Linked DNA regions of Homo sapiens: all the other regions are linked to region 1. Evidence: promoter capture Hi-C in 16 types of primary human blood cells and fetal thymus (Javierre and others, 2016). All regions are on one chromosome and are shown on one strand. Each heading gives the region's core, a stretch centred on a gene start or on the middle of the fragment in contact. The rest is flanking DNA. Distances are from core to core; before and after follow the strand shown. Region 1 holds the start of MICOS10-DT (MICOS10 divergent transcript). Region 2 overlaps CAPZB (capping actin protein of muscle Z-line subunit beta). Region 3 overlaps CAPZB (capping actin protein of muscle Z-line subunit beta). Region 4 overlaps CAPZB (capping actin protein of muscle Z-line subunit beta). Region 5 overlaps CAPZB (capping actin protein of muscle Z-line subunit beta). Region 6 overlaps CAPZB (capping actin protein of muscle Z-line subunit beta).

The links. Contacts are between HindIII fragments. The CHiCAGO score rates a contact against its expected background, and 5 or more counts as called.
Region 2: a fragment that was not itself captured here is called in contact with the fragment with the promoter of MICOS10-DT in region 1 in 10 of 17 cell types (naive CD8 T cells, total CD8 T cells, non-activated CD4 T cells and 7 more); the score reaches 8.5 in naive CD8 T cells.
Region 3: a contact is called between a fragment that was not itself captured here and the fragment with the promoter of MICOS10-DT in region 1, in 15 of 17 cell types (naive CD8 T cells, activated CD4 T cells, naive B cells and 12 more). The highest score is 14.1, in naive CD8 T cells.
Region 4: a contact is called between a fragment that was not itself captured here and the fragment with the promoter of MICOS10-DT in region 1, in 10 of 17 cell types (fetal thymus, naive CD8 T cells, non-activated CD4 T cells and 7 more). The highest score is 10.7, in fetal thymus.
Region 5: a contact is called between a fragment that was not itself captured here and the fragment with the promoter of MICOS10-DT in region 1, in 13 of 17 cell types (naive CD8 T cells, non-activated CD4 T cells, activated CD4 T cells and 10 more). The highest score is 14.8, in naive CD8 T cells.
Region 6: a fragment that was not itself captured here is called in contact with the fragment with the promoter of MICOS10-DT in region 1 in 1 of 17 cell types (naive CD4 T cells); the score reaches 6.3 in naive CD4 T cells.

What each region holds. Positions count from the first base shown.
Region 1 is chr1:19,595,411-19,598,382 of GRCh38, reverse strand. MICOS10-DT (MICOS10 divergent transcript) reads left to right here and starts at 1,551. Exons shown (of 2, transcript NR_135054.1): 1 at 1,551-1,673. MICOS10-NBL1 (MICOS10-NBL1 readthrough) reads right to left here and starts at 1,404. Exons shown (of 4, transcript NM_001204089.2): 1 at 1,274-1,404. MICOS10 (mitochondrial contact site and cristae organizing system subunit 10) reads right to left here and starts at 1,404. Exons shown (of 4, transcript NM_001032363.4): 1 at 1,274-1,404. The coding sequence starts at 1,337. RefSeq lists a silencer at 982-1,191 and an enhancer at 1,312-1,611. The HindIII fragment of the contact is 2,967 bases long and covers 1-2,016 here.
Region 2 is chr1:19,366,278-19,369,249 of GRCh38, reverse strand. The region is part of intron 4 of CAPZB (capping actin protein of muscle Z-line subunit beta); the gene reads left to right. Among named protein-coding and RNA genes, the nearest start is that of SLC66A1, 55 kb to the right of the region's middle. The HindIII fragment of the contact is 8,481 bases long and covers 1-2,972 here.
Region 3 is chr1:19,382,731-19,385,702 of GRCh38, reverse strand. It overlaps CAPZB (capping actin protein of muscle Z-line subunit beta), which reads left to right. Exons shown (of 9, transcript NM_004930.5): 3 at 77-198. Among named protein-coding and RNA genes, the nearest start is that of SLC66A1, 72 kb to the right of the region's middle. The HindIII fragment of the contact is 879 bases long and covers 1,051-1,929 here.
Region 4 is chr1:19,404,970-19,407,941 of GRCh38, reverse strand. All of the region lies in intron 2 of CAPZB (capping actin protein of muscle Z-line subunit beta), which reads left to right. Among named protein-coding and RNA genes, the nearest start is that of CAPZB, 79 kb to the left of the region's middle. The HindIII fragment of the contact is 636 bases long and covers 1,064-1,699 here.
Region 5 is chr1:19,423,778-19,426,749 of GRCh38, reverse strand. The region is part of intron 1 of CAPZB (capping actin protein of muscle Z-line subunit beta); the gene reads left to right. It also overlaps the pseudogene RN7SL277P. Among named protein-coding and RNA genes, the nearest start is that of CAPZB, 60 kb to the left of the region's middle. The HindIII fragment of the contact is 4,048 bases long and covers 1-2,972 here.
Region 6 is chr1:19,463,535-19,466,506 of GRCh38, reverse strand. All of the region lies in intron 1 of CAPZB (capping actin protein of muscle Z-line subunit beta), which reads left to right. Among named protein-coding and RNA genes, the nearest start is that of CAPZB, 21 kb to the left of the region's middle. The HindIII fragment of the contact is 1,387 bases long and covers 847-2,233 here.

The DNA of each region.
Region 1 (2,972 bases), core at 302-2,801:
GTGACTGTTTAGTCGCTTCCAAAATAACCCATTCCTAAGTGATCCATATTCAAGCCTTTAAACAAACTAACTCATTTAATCCTCCCAACGACTCCATGAGATAGTAATAATTATTACTGCCGATTTCCAAATAGGAATCAGGCACAGAAAAGTTAAATAACTTGCCCCAAATCACTTGACTGTAAGTGCTGAATTCAGAGGTGAAATGGTAACTTATAAACTGTTTCATTTATTGACTCACTCTCAACAATTTTTATTAAGCACTCTTTTAGGGGCTGGGGATGGGGCAGTGACTAAACCAGAAAACATCCCTGCTCTCATGGAGCTTACAATCTTATTCCTCAATGTTTTCATTCAAAGACACAATCCTAAATCCTCTTAAATACCCTAAGATTACCACACAAAAATATCACATTTGGGTAACAAAAATTAGCATCGAAGAAGGAACATGGGACTTGACCCCAGAAAAGCTGGGTAAAATCCCTAATTTTGCCATTTGTTAGCTGTGACCGTGGGCAAATTCCTTCACCTGACTCTCCATTTCACGGCCTGTAAAAAGATTATTTCGCACAATGAAGACAATATACGCTCAATAAACGAGTTTCCTTTCTCCTCCCCACCATACAGTGACTTCATAATTTGTGCCGTCACTGAGCACGTGTTAAAGGACTACGCAGAAAAACTTAACGTGAACAACTTCTTACTTTCCAGCGCAATTCTCATTCCAGATCATCACCCCTCTAAGTTCAGGCCCCAGACTACTCTGATTCAAATAAATCAGGTGGCAAGTCGGGAATGACAGCAACTCGCATCAGGGCCTGGCGGTGTCTATGAAATGCTCCAGGTGACCTTCTCCAGAAGGCACTTTGGTTTCCGCCGGGGAGCAGCGTGGCCTCCTGAGCCGGTTCCCCGCCGCGTGCCGGGGAATGCACCACCCGGGAGGAGAACCCCGCGGCTCCGGCACGAGGGTGTGCCCCGACACTGTCTTCCACTCAAGAGCTCTGCGACTCTCCTGCCACCTGCCAACCCCGACCACCTCCTCCGGGCTGCAACTCCACCCCGCACCCGGGCTGCTGCTCCGGCTCCTCGGGTCTGTGCCCGCCGCCCGAGTGACCTCCCGCCGGGGCCCGGGCGGCTCGCCCTGGCCGGAGGGGCCGGAAAAGGCCGAGAGGCCTGACCTCCCGTGGGGCTTCCCTTCCTTCCTCCTGGGCAGCGCAGCCTGGAGCCAGCAGCTCTGCACCGGCCGGGCCTGCTGGGGCGAAAAGCCCCTTACCTATCTTCACGACCGCATCCGCCAGACACCGGTCCCACTTCCTGCCGAGCTCCGACTCAGACATGTTCCCCACCCGCGCCTCCAGCTTTCCTCTCGGCCGGCCCCCGCGCTCCGACCCCTGAAAGTCTCGCGAGAGCTGGAAACAAGTCCCAGGTCAGGAAGGCAGGCGCAGACGCTCCAGATATCGCGAGATGATCCGCTGCTTCCATCCCTTCCGGTTTTTTCAGTTGGTCGTCAAGGTGACGAGTTGTCTGGAGGCTCGAGGTGACCCTGACCTTGGGGCTGCGCCTATGGGTTTGCGAGGCTGACAGTTTCCTAGGCGTCACCCCAAGCCGTGACCAGGCCTTTCCTCCTCACCAAAGTGCGACATTGGCCCTGGAAATCCCCCGGGCAAGAGAGGGTACAGACTTGATTTATTCATTCATTAACGTACTCACCTTCACTTTCCCTACTCACTCTCTCATTCGTTCACTGGTTTCTTGCATTGGAATTCCCGCCTGAACCACTAACACCGAAACTGCTCTGGGAAAGATTACCTACCGCCAAATCAAATGGACTCTTTTCTGACCTCTGTACCGCATTCCACACAATTTTCCCTCCCTCTGATCCTCCCTGGCTCCTCTATTCGTTTCACTCCCGGTAACGCCACTCTTTCCTCTTCTCCCCATCTGCTGTTGTCTGTTGGTTTCCTCCAGGGCTGCCTTTTCTCTGCCAGCTGTTTAAGGACTGTTGGTTCGCAAGCTTCCATCAATTCTCTTTTCACTGTACAGACTCTCCCTGAGTAATTGCAAACACTGCCAAATTATATCTCCAGGTAAAACGTCTACCTCAGGCCTCCTATCCATGTATATATTTACACACCCACCCACACACACACACACATACACATACATACACAGGGTGCCCTCTGTATCTGTGGGTTTTGCATCCATGGATTTAACCAACCATGGACCAGAAACATTTTTGAATCAAATAAAAAATAATGCAAAATTTAAAATACAGTACAACTATTTACCTAGGATTTACATTGTATTAGGTATTATAAGTAACCTAGAGATGATTTAAAGTATATGGGAGCCAGCGCAGTGGCATGCGACCGTAGTCCCAGCTACTTGGGAGGCTGAGATGGGAGGATTGCTTGAGACTAGGAGTTCGACTTCATCTCTTTAAAAAAAAATAAGTAATTTTAAAAAAGGATATGTAAGCATGTGTGTAGGTTGTATGCAAATACCACGCCATTTTATATATGGGACTTGAGCATCCTGCATTTTGGTAACTGCGAGATCCTGAAACCAAATGCCCACAGCTATCAAGAGAGATTGTATATCCAGCCTACTGGCTAGTGTCATTGATTTTAGTCTTCCATCCTACCAACAAATAGAAATCTGACCACGTTATGCCTCTGATTAGAAGCTGTCAATGAAGGCCGAGAGCAGTGGCTCACACCTGTAATCCCAACACTCTGGGAGGCTGAGGCGGGAGGATTGTTTGAGGCCAGTAGTTCAAGACCAGCCTAGGCAGCATAGTGAGACTCCTGTCTCTACAAAAAATTTAAAAAATTAGCCAGGCTAATGTGATGTGTGCCTTTAGTCCCAGCTACTTAGGAGGCTGAGGTAGGAGGATCACTTGAGCCTGGGAAGTGGAGGCTACACTGAGCCATGTTCATGCCACTGCACTCCAGCCTGGGCATCAGAGTGAT
Region 2 (2,972 bases), core at 123-2,622, 230 kb after region 1:
ACAGGCTTGCATGTTGCCCCCTGTCCTGGGGTTCCCTTTCATCTGGCATCCCAAGGCTGCAGGCCAGTGTCTGGTTGCTTGGCATGTGCAGTCTGATTTTCATCTGCTGAAAGAAAGTTAAATGGAAAACAGGAGTGTGCAGAAAACAAGTTTGCTTATGAACATGATCCCCACGTCAGCATCAGGGACTCTGATGCCTCTAGAATTCTTGGGTTCCTCTAACCAGATGGCACACAGTCACTCTTTGGTTTGGGCCGTTGCACATGTTGGAGTGAAACTCTGCTGCTGGAAGCAGGGACCAGCTCCCTCCCTTGGTCAAGCTCCCCCATCCTGCCAGAGACCCTGCACTCCCCTCACTGAGATGTTTCCGAGGCTTCTGTGATGGAAAACTGCTTTGTGCAAGTATCAAGAATAGGTGCGGTGGGGCACAGTGGCTCACACCTGTAATCTCAGTGTCTGGGGGCTGAGGTGGGAGCATCACTTGAGCCCAGAAGGTGGAGGCTGCAGTGAACTATGGTCCCACCACCACACTTCTGCCTGGGTGACAGAGAGAGACCCCATGTCTAATTAAAAAAAAAAAAAAAAAAGGCATTCTTGCAGTGACCCAGCCAGCAGCCCCAGCTGCCTCAGTGAGGCAGAGAACCCTCCAAAATCCCCAGTACAGGGTGCTCGGGGCATGTCCCGGATTCCTGGTCACCCAGCGGGTTCCTTTTTTAACTCGGACTCTCTCCACCGTTTTTTTTTTTTTTTTTTTCCAAGAAAAAAAATGGAGACGGGGGCTCTCACTCTGTTGCCCAGGCTGGTCTCAAACTCCTGGCCTCAAGTGATCCTCCCATCTTGGCCTCCCAAAGTGCTGGGGATTACAGGCATGAGCCACTGCACTTGGCCTGACTTTCTCCTCTTTGGGGCAGCTGTGTGTTCAGTGGTGTGGCTTCATACGGGCATCTAACCTACTGGCTGACCCTGTTCTGTCCGCCTGCGCTCCATCCCACCACAGCTGGCACGTCTCAGGATGGCCAGGCAGCCTGGCATGGGGCAGAATATGGGCACTGGGGCCAGCCAAGCCTGACATCTACTCCCAGATCCCTGCTTCTCAGCCTGTGACTTGGGCACGTTCCTTATCTCTCTGGGTTACAGTTTTCTTAACTGTAAAAAAAAGATATGCAAAGCCCCTGACACAGAATGAGTTCTCAACAATGGCAGCTTTGGATGAGAGTGATGACTTGGAAGCCCAGAAAGCCCTGACTGTTGACGGCTCATGAGGTAGCTCCATGGGGCCAGCAGTGTTTTCACAAGTAGTCCAGAGGGCAGAAGACAGTCGCAGTGGTGCCAAGTGTGGACAGTTTGGCCAGATCCCAAAACCAGATCCCAGAGCCAGATAGCCGGCCCCTGCAGCGGCACCATTGTTTCCAGAGAGGCCTTCATTATTTCTTTAAGTAAAAAAATAAAAGCCTCGTAAAAGCGAGACACTAAAGCGCGGCAGCCACAGTCCAGATGTGCCTTCTAAGTGCAGCTGGCATTAAAGTCGCACATGCCTAAGCTGATTGGTATGTTGACTCGGGGGATTGTTGCACCTGTGTGTACTGGAAGGAATTTCCGCTGAATACCTGTCCCGTGTCCATGGGCAGCCTCTGGGCCGTGTTCCCTAAACCATGGTGAAAACAGCTGGTCTCAACACACAAACAAGGGTGGTTGAGTTTCAGCATCAGCTCTGGACATGGCCCGCCCAAAGCCAAGCATTGATCTTTCTCCATTTTGTGTGGAGCCTGTGCCAGTGGGTACGGAACCGCTCCCAGTAAGCGGCACTTTGTGTTTCTGACGGACACTTCCAGGGCAGCTCACAACACGTCGAGGTTGCCTTCTCCTCCCCTCTGTTCAGAAAGTAAGAGCCTGATGAAAACCAGCAGCCACCACTTGTTGAGTGCTTGCTCTGCCAGGTGCCATGGCAAGTGCTTGCCCGTTCATTTTTTTCTTGTGATCTTCCTTATATCTCCTCATGCTTGTTTGCCAGATGCATCTTGAGTGCAGGCTGGTATAACCAGTGTAAGGAAGAGAACCCACACTCTCCAGCCCCTCGTGTGCCGTCTGCAGCTCTCTGGACTTTGCAACATTGTGCCCACTGGGCAGCACCCACGCCCATCCATTGGACAGGGGATGCGCTCAGCTTCTTTTTGAAGTTGGCTAGATGGCAGCCAGCAGAGCAAAAAGGAACGTTGGTCTACACCACGAGGAAGGGAGCCAGGTTTTGGATGCCCCTCTGAGCAGAATGGACAGTTTTCTCTTTTTCCTGAGGTGGAGTTGGATTGTTCCCACCTGTGAAGACCAGGTGCCTGTTTTGTTGTAAGGATGTTAAGGATGATCAGAAAAACAAACTACTGCTGATAGCTGGGGATTTTAGTTTCTTTTTTACCCTAGGAGGGAACAAAAAGGCATTGTTTTAGGGCCAGAACCTCAGCTGCCGGGGAATGGCTCTGCCTCTGGGTTTTATTCTCTTCCTCTTTGCCATAAAATCAGTCATGGAGCTTGGGAGTTTCTGTTTGTTTGTTGTTGTTGTTTCTTTTGAGATGGAGTCTCGCTCTTTTTGCTCAGGCTGGAGTGCAGTGGCGCCATCTCAAGGCACTATAACCTCTGCCTCCCGGGTTCAAGCAATTCTCCTGTCTCAGCCTCCTGAGTAACTGGGATTACAAGCACCTGCCACCATGCCTGGCTAATTTTTGTATTTTTAGTAGAAATGGGATTCACCATGCTGGCCAGGCTGGTTTCGAACTCCTGACCTCAGGTGATCTGCCGGCCTCGGCTTCCCAAAGTGCCGGGATTATAGGCATGAGCCACCGCACCCGGCCAGGAGTTTGTTTGAACTCATGCCTGTATGACCTTGTCTTTGTCATGACCAAGCACCAGTACAGCAAAAAGTGTCCCTCATGACCATTTATTTTATTTATATATATATATATATATATATATATTTTAAG
Region 3 (2,972 bases), core at 241-2,740, 210 kb after region 1:
CTGCAGTATTGTTAGCCACCTGAGTTTGGTGTGCTGTTTTAACCTCTGTTTCGACCTTGTCCTTTCTCTCTGCCAGGTCCCCAGTCTATGTGAGGATCTCCTGTCTTCTGTTGACCAGCCACTGAAAATTGCCAGAGACAAGGTGGTGGGAAAGGATTACCTTTTGTGTGACTACAACAGAGATGGGGACTCCTATAGGTGAGCTCATGCCCCGGGGATGCAGCAGGCACAGCAGGCACACGCGGGCTGCCGTAGGTACCTGCTGCAGAGCACGGGGACCTTGGACTTGGGCAGCTGGCAGCCCATTCAGCTTTCCTTCCGTTTGTTCCCTGCCCTCCTCTCCTTTCTTCTCTTGTCCTCCCCATTCTTCTCATCGTTCCATCTGTTATTCCAATCATGCAGCAGACGTTTGAAGAGTGCCACCCACAAGCATGAGAGATAGAGCAGCGGACCAAAGGCCCCCTGCCTTCATGGATCTTCCAGTCTAACGGGAGAGGGATGTTGTTCAAAAACAACTGTTCTATTATAATTGCATTCAGTCCTGCGGAGGGCAGTGTACAGGGTGCGCATATGATGGGGATCCTGAGGGCTGGGAGGGTCTCTGTGGTAAGGGATCTACGAACGCAGCTCTGTCAGATACACAACTCTCCTCTCTCTTTCCGTCACCTCGCCCAAGGCTGTAAATAACTAAGTTGACATTAGTCCCTGCCCTGGGTGTCTGATCACCAGGTCTAGCATAGGAGACACATTGGGTAACTGGTAACTGTATGATGTGATTCATACAGCCAGTGCAAAGTCTGTTCAGGGTGGGACGGTAGCACAGAAGAGGCCATGGTCAACTCCAGGAGGACTTCCTGAAGGAGGTGATGTCTGAGCTGGGTTTTAAGGGCATGTAGGAGTTATACCTCTATTTTTTAAGAGTGGGAATCCTTAAACTGGCCCAGTGTTTCCATGATGAATTGCAGTAGTCACTGCCTTGGAGAATGGTAGAGGAACACAGCCTGCTTTAGGTTTATTTGGAGACCACAGAACCAGGGTTGTCTTGAAGCTTCACCCTGATGCTCTCTTTGGAGATGGGGCAAGGCTTCTGGGAAGTCAAAGCAGGAAAAATGATCAGGAGTCAGCCAGTGTGGGCTTCAAACCAGCACAGCTCCCTGTGTCAATGGGACTTTGACAAATCACTTATTGTCGCTGGTCTTTTAGTTTTGTCATCTGTAAAACGGAAATAGTAGTGTTTCTTTACTCAACAGAATGCTTCCTGAAGAAAATAAAGAGGACAGTGGGAGGGAGGGAGAGGACGGGCAGGCAGGGAAGGCTCTCCCACAAGTGGGAACTGGAGGATGAAAAGGTCCAGGTCTGGGGAAGAGCCTGCTGGGTGCTGAGGCCCTGGGTGATGAGCTCACCAGGATGGAGCTGGCAGAAGGCCAGAGGTGGAGAAGGCAGTGAGGGGAGGGCAGTGGGGGCGGAGATGAGGGAGGAGGCATGGCCAGGGCAGGTCTGGCAGGGTCTTGAAGGCCAGGCTGAGGGTAATAAAAGTTAGCACAGGGTTATTTATTGGGGGGATAAAAGAAGTAACACACGTGAAATGTTGAATGGCACAGACATTGTCATATACTTAAAAAGTTTAATACTGACTTATAAGAGACTAGACAACAGTTTTATAATCATGTCCCTTTCCTGGCTTTAAATGGAAATTAGGTAGAGATTATATTTTGCCCTCCTTCAGACCACAGACTAGAGTTGAAATGGTGAGAAGTGGTGAGATTTGAGGTCACTTTTAAAAGTAGAGCCAGCGGCCTCTGCAGGTAGGTGGGGATGGAAGAAGAGGAGGTGGGGTGTGAAGGGTGATTACAAGGCTTCGGACCTGAGCCACTGTTGATTGAGGTGAGGAGGACTCGGGGAGGAGCAGGCATAGGGACACTTTAAGCTTGAGAGGCCCATTAGATCAAAGTGGAGATACCAGGTAGGCTGTGGATGTACCATGTGGAGTTCCAGGAGAGAGGTTTAGGCTGGGGATGTGGCTGCAGATGTCCCAGCATATAGATGGTGATACAGCCCTGAGGCCGATCAAATTCATCCTTGAAGGGCTCATTCTGTGCCTGGAACTGCTGGTCACAGCATGGCGTCCAGGTGCTGTCCTTGGGAGCATCTTGCTCTGTCGCCCAGGCTGTAGTGCAGTGATGCGAACATGGCCCCCTGCACAAGACCATAGGCATGTATCACCATGCCCAGCTAATTTTTTTTTTTTTTTTTTTTGAGACAGAGTCTCACTCTGTTGTCCAGGTTGGAGTGCAGTGGCACGATCTCAGCTCACTGCAACCTCTGTCTCCTGGGTTCAAGCAGATTCTCCTGCCTCAGCCTCCCAAGTAGCTGGGATTACGGGTGTACGCCATCGCTCCCAGCTAGTCTTTGTATTTTCAGTGCAGACAGGGTTTCACCACGTTGGCCAGGCTGGTCTTGAACTCCTGACCTCAAATGATCCTCCTGCCTTGGCTTCCCAAAATGTCAGGATTATAGGCATGAGCCACTGCGCCCAGCCCCAGCTAATTTTTTTGACTTTTTCTCTCTCCTTTTTTTTTTTTTTTTGTAGAGATGGGGGCCTCATTTTGTTGCCCAGGCTGGCCTCGAACTCCTAGGTTCAAGCAGTCCTCCCACTTCAGCTTCCCAAATTGCTAGGATTACAGGTGTGAGCCACATTGCCCAGCCAGGGAGCCACTGATGAAGTGGGTGGACCAGCCCTTAGAGAGAGAAGTCCAGTGAAGATGGTGAGTGGTCTGACAGACCAGGGAGCAGGCAGGGAGAAGTATTCTCGCCCGGCATGCAGTTCAGGGAACGCTTCCTGGAGGAGGTGTTCCTTGAACTGGTCTTGCTTAATCAACATCATTATTATATTTATTATTTCCACCTAAAAACTCCAGTTGACTGTGTAAGGCAGCTGTTCTGCAGGAGCTGGTGGAAGGACGGGATCATGT
Region 4 (2,972 bases), core at 132-2,631, 190 kb after region 1:
CCAGACTTTGGCTGGCTGGTTTCCATTCTGCAGAGATAAGGGTCATCTGACACCAGCTGCACAGTCCGCCCTGGTGAGGGTCTCTCCCCCTCCTCTTCCTGATTGCTTGCTAGGCACTTTTCTTCCTGCTTCTGCTCCCTGAATGAGGAGCTGACCCCGGTTATCATTGGGAAAGTCTTCGGAAGCCCTGGGAGAGAAAGCTAGACAAGAGCGTGGCTGGATGGTCTAAGGCGGCAGGAAGGAGTCTTAGGTTGATCTCAGTGTCCAAGGACAAGCCAGCCTTGCAGCCTCCCAGGTCATCAGACCCCTCAATCCTCAGCCTTCCAGAGGTGCCAGGTCACCTGTGAAACCTGGGTCCTCAGGATCCTTTCTGTCGGTTTCCCAGCTTCCTTGCCATTTACCCTCTTCCTTATCAGCACTGCTCACCTCTTGCTCCTCTTTCCTCTGAATCTCTTGTCCCCTTCTTGAACCTACATCTCTAGTCTCCCCCCAGGTACCCTTTTCCCCAGCTTGAGAGCCCCCCAGTCTATGTGTGAGGGTCCTACACAACCTCCCAGTGATGGGCCTCTGTTCTGTATCTCTGGGCCTCTCCTGGGACTGCTTTCTGGTGGGGAGGCTATTTTAGCAGCTCACCTGCTGCTACCTATTCATGACCCTGATGCAGAAAATGCTTGTGAGGTGCCACTAGCCAAGAAGCAGACCAAGGCTGGAAGTGGAGTCCTCATTTGTTTTGCAGACTTCCTTGGAAACAGATTGGCCATTTAGTGCCCCCTACCACACCTTTATATGCCAGGCCAGAGAAGCCTGTTTTGGTGTATTTGGGAATTCAAATTCTACAAAATTCTTGGTTAGGTGTTTCTAGGCTGTTAGTCTGAGGATGCCTGAAATGCTTGGTTAGGAGCATTGAAGTTGATAGTGGAGTGCCTTGAAATCGAAAGGCACAATCCTGTTCAGCTCTTGTCTTTACCACGTCTTAGCTGTGTGACCACTGAGCCTCAGTTTCCTCATCTGTGAGATGGGCATGACACTAACTTCAAGAATGAGAGATGGGGGGTGTAAAGCTTCTAGCATAGTACCTGGCTTGTAGTAGCTGTCTGCATGGAGTTCTGAGGTCATGTCAAACTTGCGCAAAATACTCTGCTGTTCTCCCGGGTTTTAAGAGATGACTATCGTGTGCCAGGTACTGTTCCAGACCCTTTGCTTATTTAAACTGCACACCACAAGGTTGATCTTTTATGCCCATTTTACAGATGAGGAAACCAAGTGAGGTTTCATGAGTTGGTCCAAGCCTCACAGCTAATTAGTAAGGAGCAGAGTTGGGATCTACCCGTCTGCAAAGCCTGTCTTCTCCGTCACGCTGTTTGTGCCCAAAGCTGCCCCAGGAGTAGCTTTCTCCTTGTCACTGCAGGTCACCAGAGGATGGCTGACTCTGAATGCAGCTGTCTTCACAATTCTTAGCACCGGCAAGAAGTTACTCAGTCTCCGTAGTGGGTAGCTTCCCCCTTCCCACGTTGAAAGGGCGTTCTGTTCTGGCCTCCTGTGGTTAAAGGTGCACTGCTGATGGAGACGGAAGCATCCGTGGTAACAAGCACAAGACCCCAACATCCCAGCTGCCAGCTGCCAAGCAGTAGTGCCGGGGGGAGGGGTGCGTTGGGTTCCAGTGCACCCAGAGGCTTTGCATTGCTTACATAAAGAAGCTTCAGAGCTTTAGAAGGGATGCGTGGGGGAGGAATAGTCCCGCCCTCCTCCTTTTTTGGGTCATTGGCCCTCACTGGGCCGGACACTTCTTATTCACTAATCAGACGGTTTGCGGTTGCCCTTTGCCACATCTGTGGCTGCCTTCCTGGGCCTGTCGAGCTCACAATTAAGGTTCATTAGAGACCCTGTCAGTCATAGCACGCACAGAGCCTGCCTGAGAGAGGCCTTGCCAAGGGGCTGGCCAGCCCCATGCCCCCACCAAAATGAGTCCCTTTGCAAATGACTGCCAACCAAATTCTAGAGGCTTTGTGTACAGGAGAGGGGGTGTGAGCAGCGCTTGTGAAGCTCCAGACTCTCGGGTCCTAATGGGCCCATTGCCTTTTATGTAATTGAAACCTTCAGGCGAGCTCTCGAATTGATGTTCCAGATGGTGGCGGCGGGAGTGCTGTCAGATGGACGCTTTGGAGGGATCATCTGACAGCCGGCCCCTCCGAAAAGAGATTTGGAGCCAAATGCAGAAGAGATTTAATGATCGTTAATCTCCCTCTCCCTCTTTCTGGAATATATTGGGACTCTTAATTACTATTGACTGGAAGCTAAAACAACACTCCTAGTTCAGAACAAAACTCTTCAGGAGATTTGCCCCAGGCTGAAAGGATTATCCTTCATACAAGGGGATTTTTTTTTTTTTTTTTTTTTTTTGCCTCTTTCTAGCTATGTGTTGAACATCAGTTGGGAGTAGAGGAGATATGTACATCAGGTGTTTTAAAGAGGCTTAATACTTCTTCGCCCGCATTGTTTTCCTGTCTCATTGACCTTCCTAGTCCCAAACGCTGCCTGTAGGGGCAGCCAAATCTCCACGTTTTATCTAACGCACTGAAAGCACTGCTGTGTGCTGTAACTGTACTCTTAGCACTGGAGGGCCCTCTGGCTTCCGAGCACCTGCGGGATGCCATGATGCTCACCTCTATCCCCAGACCCTAACACAGTGCCTGGCCACATGTCGATATGGCCACAAATAAATATGAGATAATGAACCAAAAACCCTGCTATCCCCAAATTCTGAGGGGAGTCCACATTAGACATTCTAGGCTGTGTGATCTGAGACCCAGAGATGAGAAGGGACGGATGCCTCTTGGAGCTGAGCTATGACTCAGGAGACCTCAGCCCCTGGGACTCAAGGGCTGGTGGTCCCGGCAGGTGGCAGTATATGGACAGAGTCTTTAAGGTCACGGAGTCATGAGTTAGCTGGGGCTGGGAGCATGCATCCTGAA
Region 5 (2,972 bases), core at 222-2,721, 170 kb after region 1:
GGGTGGTTCTGGCTTGGGGTCTCATACTATTGCAGTCAGATAGCTGAAGCTGGAACAGTGGGAGCCTGGAGCACCTGGGGGCTCAGTGGGCCTCCCTCTGTCCATGGAGTCTCAGGAAGTCTTCTGCACAGGGTGGCCTCGGGGCAGTTGAGTGGGCTCCAGGCCTGTGTGTTTAGCAGGCAGGGAGAAGCCGCGTTGTCTCTTGTGGGCTCACAAGTCATAGGGCATCATTTGTGCTGGGCTCTGATGATAAAAAGTTACAAAAGCTCCTCCGGTTCCAAGGCGGAGGGGACACAGCCCCCCCCCGCCCCACCACAAGTGGGAGGAGTGTCACAGTCACGCTGCAAGAGGAGCATGTGGGATGGGACTGCTTGTTATGGTCATTTTTGGAAAATATAATCTGCTTCGCCTTCTAAGTCACAACAGCAGTCGTCATTCCCCTGTGGAAAAATCTCTAGGGGCTCCAAAACCTTCACAGAAAAGTGGATTTTAAAGAATGTGGCACAGATGCCTTACCTATAAACTGGACAGGAGCAAAAAACTGCGGGGAGAAGTGAGATTCTGAGCCTAGCTCCTCGGGCCAGCATAGCTGCCCCCTGAGTAGTTTGGGTGTGATCTGGCTCTTGTGACAAGGCCCCAGTCACCTCCCCAGGCCATGCCCCATGGTTCCCCACCTCCTCCTCCACGCACCTGGCTCACCTCTCCTTAGCCTGCTGCACCTGCTGCCTGGAAAGGCACACCTGCTTATCCAGGGCTAACCTGCTCCTGTGGCCCCATTCTGAGACATCTTCTGGGGCTCCCTGCCCTACTTAGTGGGCACCTGTACTCTGACATTGACATTGTTGTAGATGGTGTGTTTACTCTACCAAACTTGGAGTGTAGGTACTGGTTACATCTCACTTGATGGTTTCCAAATCAGACTTTGCCCTGGAGTTTGCCTAGTAGGCCAAGTTTTCCTGTATGCAGATGATTTCATAATACCGTCGGATGTCTGAACACTGTAGCAGATATTTAGATGGTGGGGTTTTATTTGACTGATTTCTTATTCTGAAAAATTGTTTTAGTCCGTATTAATGGTGGTTTTATTTATTGCAGGGTGATTTAAGCAATTTTATGCTTTTTCTTTAAATCATGTGAAAACAGGAGGTGAAATATTTCTTATCTCAGTTTATATACCAAAATAAGAAAATAACACAAAAAACCCCCTAAACCTACCCCTTGGAGCCTTGCCAGCTTAAAATGGGGTAACTCCCCTCCTTATTATTTGACATCCTAACAAGGACTCTTCCTTGATTTTTTTTTTCCACACTGATTTTGACTGCACCATAAGCTCCATGAGGAGCAGAGACTTTTATGTTCACCACTCAGCATCAGAAACAGTGCTTGTTACCTAGGAAACACTCACATAATGATCAGATGATTAATTGAATGGACAGAGAATTCCAGAGGATAAGGAGAAATGGTCCTTCTTTTACTATTTACCTTTCCACCTGGAACACACCATTGGGTGGTGGAACTGGTGAAGCTCATTGTATGAAGGAGGTGCCTGGACCAGTCAGAGTTTTGAAGGAGCTGGCCTGTGGAGAGCTCTTAGCCACCAGGTGACAGTTTACTTCCCCTGACTGGCCTTCTGTTTATTTTGTAGCCATGTGAGGGAGGGAAGTCCTAGGAAAATAATTGACACAAAGAAGTACAAATCAGTGTATTGTGAACTGTGCCTTGTCTCTTTGTACCTTCTCTGTCTCATCATTGTACACACCACACGACCTTGTGGTTATTTGCTGTTTTATGGACAATTGGTTCCTTGAGGCTTGGGACTGGGTCTCATTTGTTGGGCCGGATTCAGGGCCTGGCCCAGGGTTGGCACTCAGTGCACAGTTGTTGAACTGTAGCCCAGTTGCTGGCCTGCAAGCGGCCAAATCCAGGATGATGGTCTTGTTTTGAAGGGTGTGGCGGTTAGGCATGTCTGCTCTCGCAGTAGGATAGAGGGCACTCCATCTAGAAGGAGTCTTAGAGTTCATCTGGGCCAAATCCCAGGCCACGAGGTTAAGTGAGCAGTCCAAAGCACACAGACGTCTAGTGACAGGGCATACCTTGGACCCTGGACTCCTGAGTCCTAAGCCCTCTCTTTACTTGCTCTTCCTTGTATTTTTTGACCTGCTCCGTTTCTGTCCTGGGCCGGTTCACCCCTCCTTAGGCAACCTGGTGGTTCCCTGCTCCCAGGAAGTCACCATATTGATGCCAAACTTAGTGCGGACACCTGATGGGCATAGCACACTACAACCCAGAACTCCTGGGCTTGAACGATCCTCCTGCCTCAGCTTCCCGAGTAGCCGGAACTACAGGCACGCACCACCACTCCCTGCATACTTGTAGTTTTTTCTATTACCTTTAAAAAAAGTTTAGATATCTGATAATCATAACTTAAGCATCACGTTGATGATGAATACCCTTGAACCTGCCATTCCATGTGAGACCTAGACAGTATAGCTTTCATCTTCCCCTCATGGCTTCCCTAGAACTGCTCTTCTACTCTTCTTAAATGTTGTATTTATCATACCTTTGTCTTGGCTTAAAGAAAAAAAAAAGCCTTGTTATATTAGTCTAAAACACGTGTCTAAATAATAAGAGTGTTCATGGCCAGGTGCAGTGGCTCACGCCTGCAAACCCAGCACTTTGGGAGGCTGAGGCAGATGGATCGCTTGAGCTCAGGACTTTGAGACCAGCCTGGGCAACATAGCAAAACCCCATCTCTACAAAAAATAGAAAAATTGGCTGGGCATGGTGGCTCATGCCTGTAATCCCAGCACTTTGGGAGGCCGAGGTGGGCGGATCGCTTGAGGTCAAGCGTTTGAGACCATCCTGGGCAGCATGGTGAAACCCCATCTCTACCAAACTACAAAAAATTAGCCAGGCATGGTGGCCCCCCAGCTACTTGGAGGGCTGAGGTGGGAGGATGGCTTGAGCCTGGG
Region 6 (2,972 bases), core at 291-2,790, 130 kb after region 1:
CGAGGTTACTCAGCCCCTCTCACATCACCTGCGCCGTGAGGAAGCTCAGGACTCTGACCTAGACATGTGATCTATGAGCTCAAAAGATTGAAAAACGTTGCAGCTCAGGAACATTTTGTCTTCACGTGTGCTGCTTGTTTTTGTTTGGGTTTCAGCTCTCACTGTTTATTAGCCAAGGAAGCAGCCTGGTCTAGTGCAAAGAGTAAGGGCTTTGGAGCTAGGCAGGACCTTGAATAGCTCCATGCATCTGGCTCTGCCTCCCCAGTGTGGGAGTGAAAGACCCTCCTGGCGGAGCTGTGGAGCTGGTGGAGTAGGCCAGGAGCACAGATTCACCTCTGAGTCTGATCCTCCACCCACCACACCTCAGCCTAAGTGCGTGCAGTGATTAGTGTCGCCTCTGTCCCAATAAAAGGGTTGTCCTTGGTCATGGATGGTAGCTGGGCTCCTGGGGCCAGACTGCCTGGGTTTAAATCTTTGTTCCCTTACACTTTTAGCTGTGTAGCCTTGGGCTTCACTTAACTCTCTGGGACTGGTTCCTTGTCATAGGATCGATTTGAGGCTAATTAAATGAGGTCAAGCAGGTAAGAAGGCCTGTCATACCTAGCACATATAGGGCTCCGTACATGTTGTTGGTCTTATCACTGTTAATGAGTTAATGCACGTCAAATGAGTCGTAGCACCTGGGACATAGTAAGTGCCCAATAAATGGTAGCTCTTGTCTTTATCACATGAGCCCAGAGGCCCAGGACAGGAGGCACTGGCTTCTGGGAGGAGAGGAGATAGATGGTTTTCTACATTCAGCTCTGGTTAGATCCAGAGGTTTTCATTCTCCCCACCCTCTAAGCTTTTGGTGCCTATATCCCTGACCAACAGGAACCCAGCAATGGACCACACCACTTCTACCTGAGCCATTGCACAGAGTCACCTCTGCAGTTGGCTTTGAAAGAATTAGAGCTCAAGTTTGGAATAGGCAATTCAGTCACAGGTTTCAAAAATAAAAATATATACATTGTCTTAGTCTGTTTGGGCTCCTGGAACAAATACCTTAAACTGAATAATTTGTACACAACAGAAATTGATTACTCACAGTTCTGAAGGCTGGGAAGTCCGTAAGCAAGGTCTTGGCAGACTCAGTGTTTGGCAAAGGCTTGTTCTCTGCATCATAGACAGCGCCTCACATGGTGGAAGGGGCTGGCCAGCTCCCCTGGGCCTCTTATAGGGGCATTAATGTCATTCATGAAGGTGGGGCCCTCATGATCTAATCACCTCTTAAAGGCCTCACCTCTTAACTCTGGCATTGGGGATTATGTTTCAGCATATGAATTTTGAGGGGGTACCAGCATTCAGACCACAACACACATAAAACACTGCCTTCTCTTCTCACATGCCCAGTGTCTTCCACTCTCCCCTGCCAACCACAGCTAAGATTTCTAGGGTCTTCTTTTTTTTGTTTTTAATCAGGGTATTATTTGCAAGTAATAAAATTAACCAGCTTTAAGTGTACAGTTTGAGTTTTGGTACTAATCATGTTGCCACCACCACAATCGAGTTATAGAACAGTTTCCTCACCCTAAAAAGTCCCTTCATGCCCCTTTGGCCCTTTTCCCCCTCCTAGACAGCCTTGTTCCCCATCCCTAGACAACCACTGATCTGCTTTGTCACCGCGGTTTTGCCTTTTCTATAATTGTAAATAAATGGAAGCAGATAGTATGGAGTCTTTTGTGTTTGACCTCTTTCGTGTAACATGATTTATTTGATTCATTCATGTTGCATGTATTAATATTTCCTTTTCTTGCTGTAGAGCATTCCATAGTATTCCATGGTATGGACGTACCATTCAGCAGTTGATGAACATTTGGGTTGCCTCCAGTTTTTGGATGTTGAGAGTAAATCTGTTATAAATCTTCACAGATAGGGCCGGGTGCGGTGGCTTACACCTGTAATCCCAGCATTTTGGGAGGCCGAGGCGGGTGGATCACGAGGTCAAGAGATCGAGACCATCCTGGCTAACAACGGTGAAACCCCGTCTCTACTAGAAATACAAAAAATTAGCCGGGCATGGTGGCGGGCACCTGTAGTCCCAGCTACTCGGGAGGCTGAGGCAGGAGAATGGCGTGAACCCGGGAGGTGGAGCTTGCAGTGAGCCGAGATTGCACCACTGCACTCCAGCCTGGGCGACAGAGCGAGACTCCATCTCAAAAAAAAAAAAAAAAAAAATCTTCAGAGATAAGCTTTTATGTGGACTTTTTCTTTTTCGGTTTTCTTTCTTCCTTTCCTCCTTTGCTCCTCTCTTTCTTTTCTCTTTTCTTTCTTCCCTTTTTCGACAGAGTCTTGCTCTGTTGCCCAGGCTGGAGTGCAGTGGCATGATCTTGGCTCACTACAACCTCTGTCTCCCAGGTTAAAGCAATTCTCCTGCCTCAGCCTCCTGAGTAGCTGAGATTACAGGTGTGCACCACCACATCCAGCTAATTTTTTTTTTTTTTTTTGTATTTTTAGTAGAGATAGGGGTTCACCATGTTGGCCCGGCTCAAACTCCTGGTCTCAAGTGATCTGCCCACCTTGACCTTCCAAAATGTTGGGATTACAGGCATAAGCCACCGTGCCTGGCCTGCTGTCCTCATTTCTTTAGGCATAACAAGCAAATACAAATATATTTCATTTCTCCTCTTTTTAACATAGAGGGTGAAATATTATCCACGTTTCTCCACCCTGTGTGCTTTGAAAGGGCCTCACCTCCAGATGAGAAGATGCATATGAAGTCTTTATAACTTGGCCATGTGTTCTAGTGTCCCAGGAGCTAAGGGTGCCAAGTGGTCTTCCTGGCTCCTGGAGTGTGTACCAGCCTCCTGGGGCCTCAAAGGAAAGTGGTGGAGGTGGGCATGGTGGCCACTGGCCCAGCAGCAAGGCTGGCACCCTGGGCAGTTCCAGCTCACAGGGCCTTTTGCTCTCCCAACCATTTAAGGTGGGGAGTA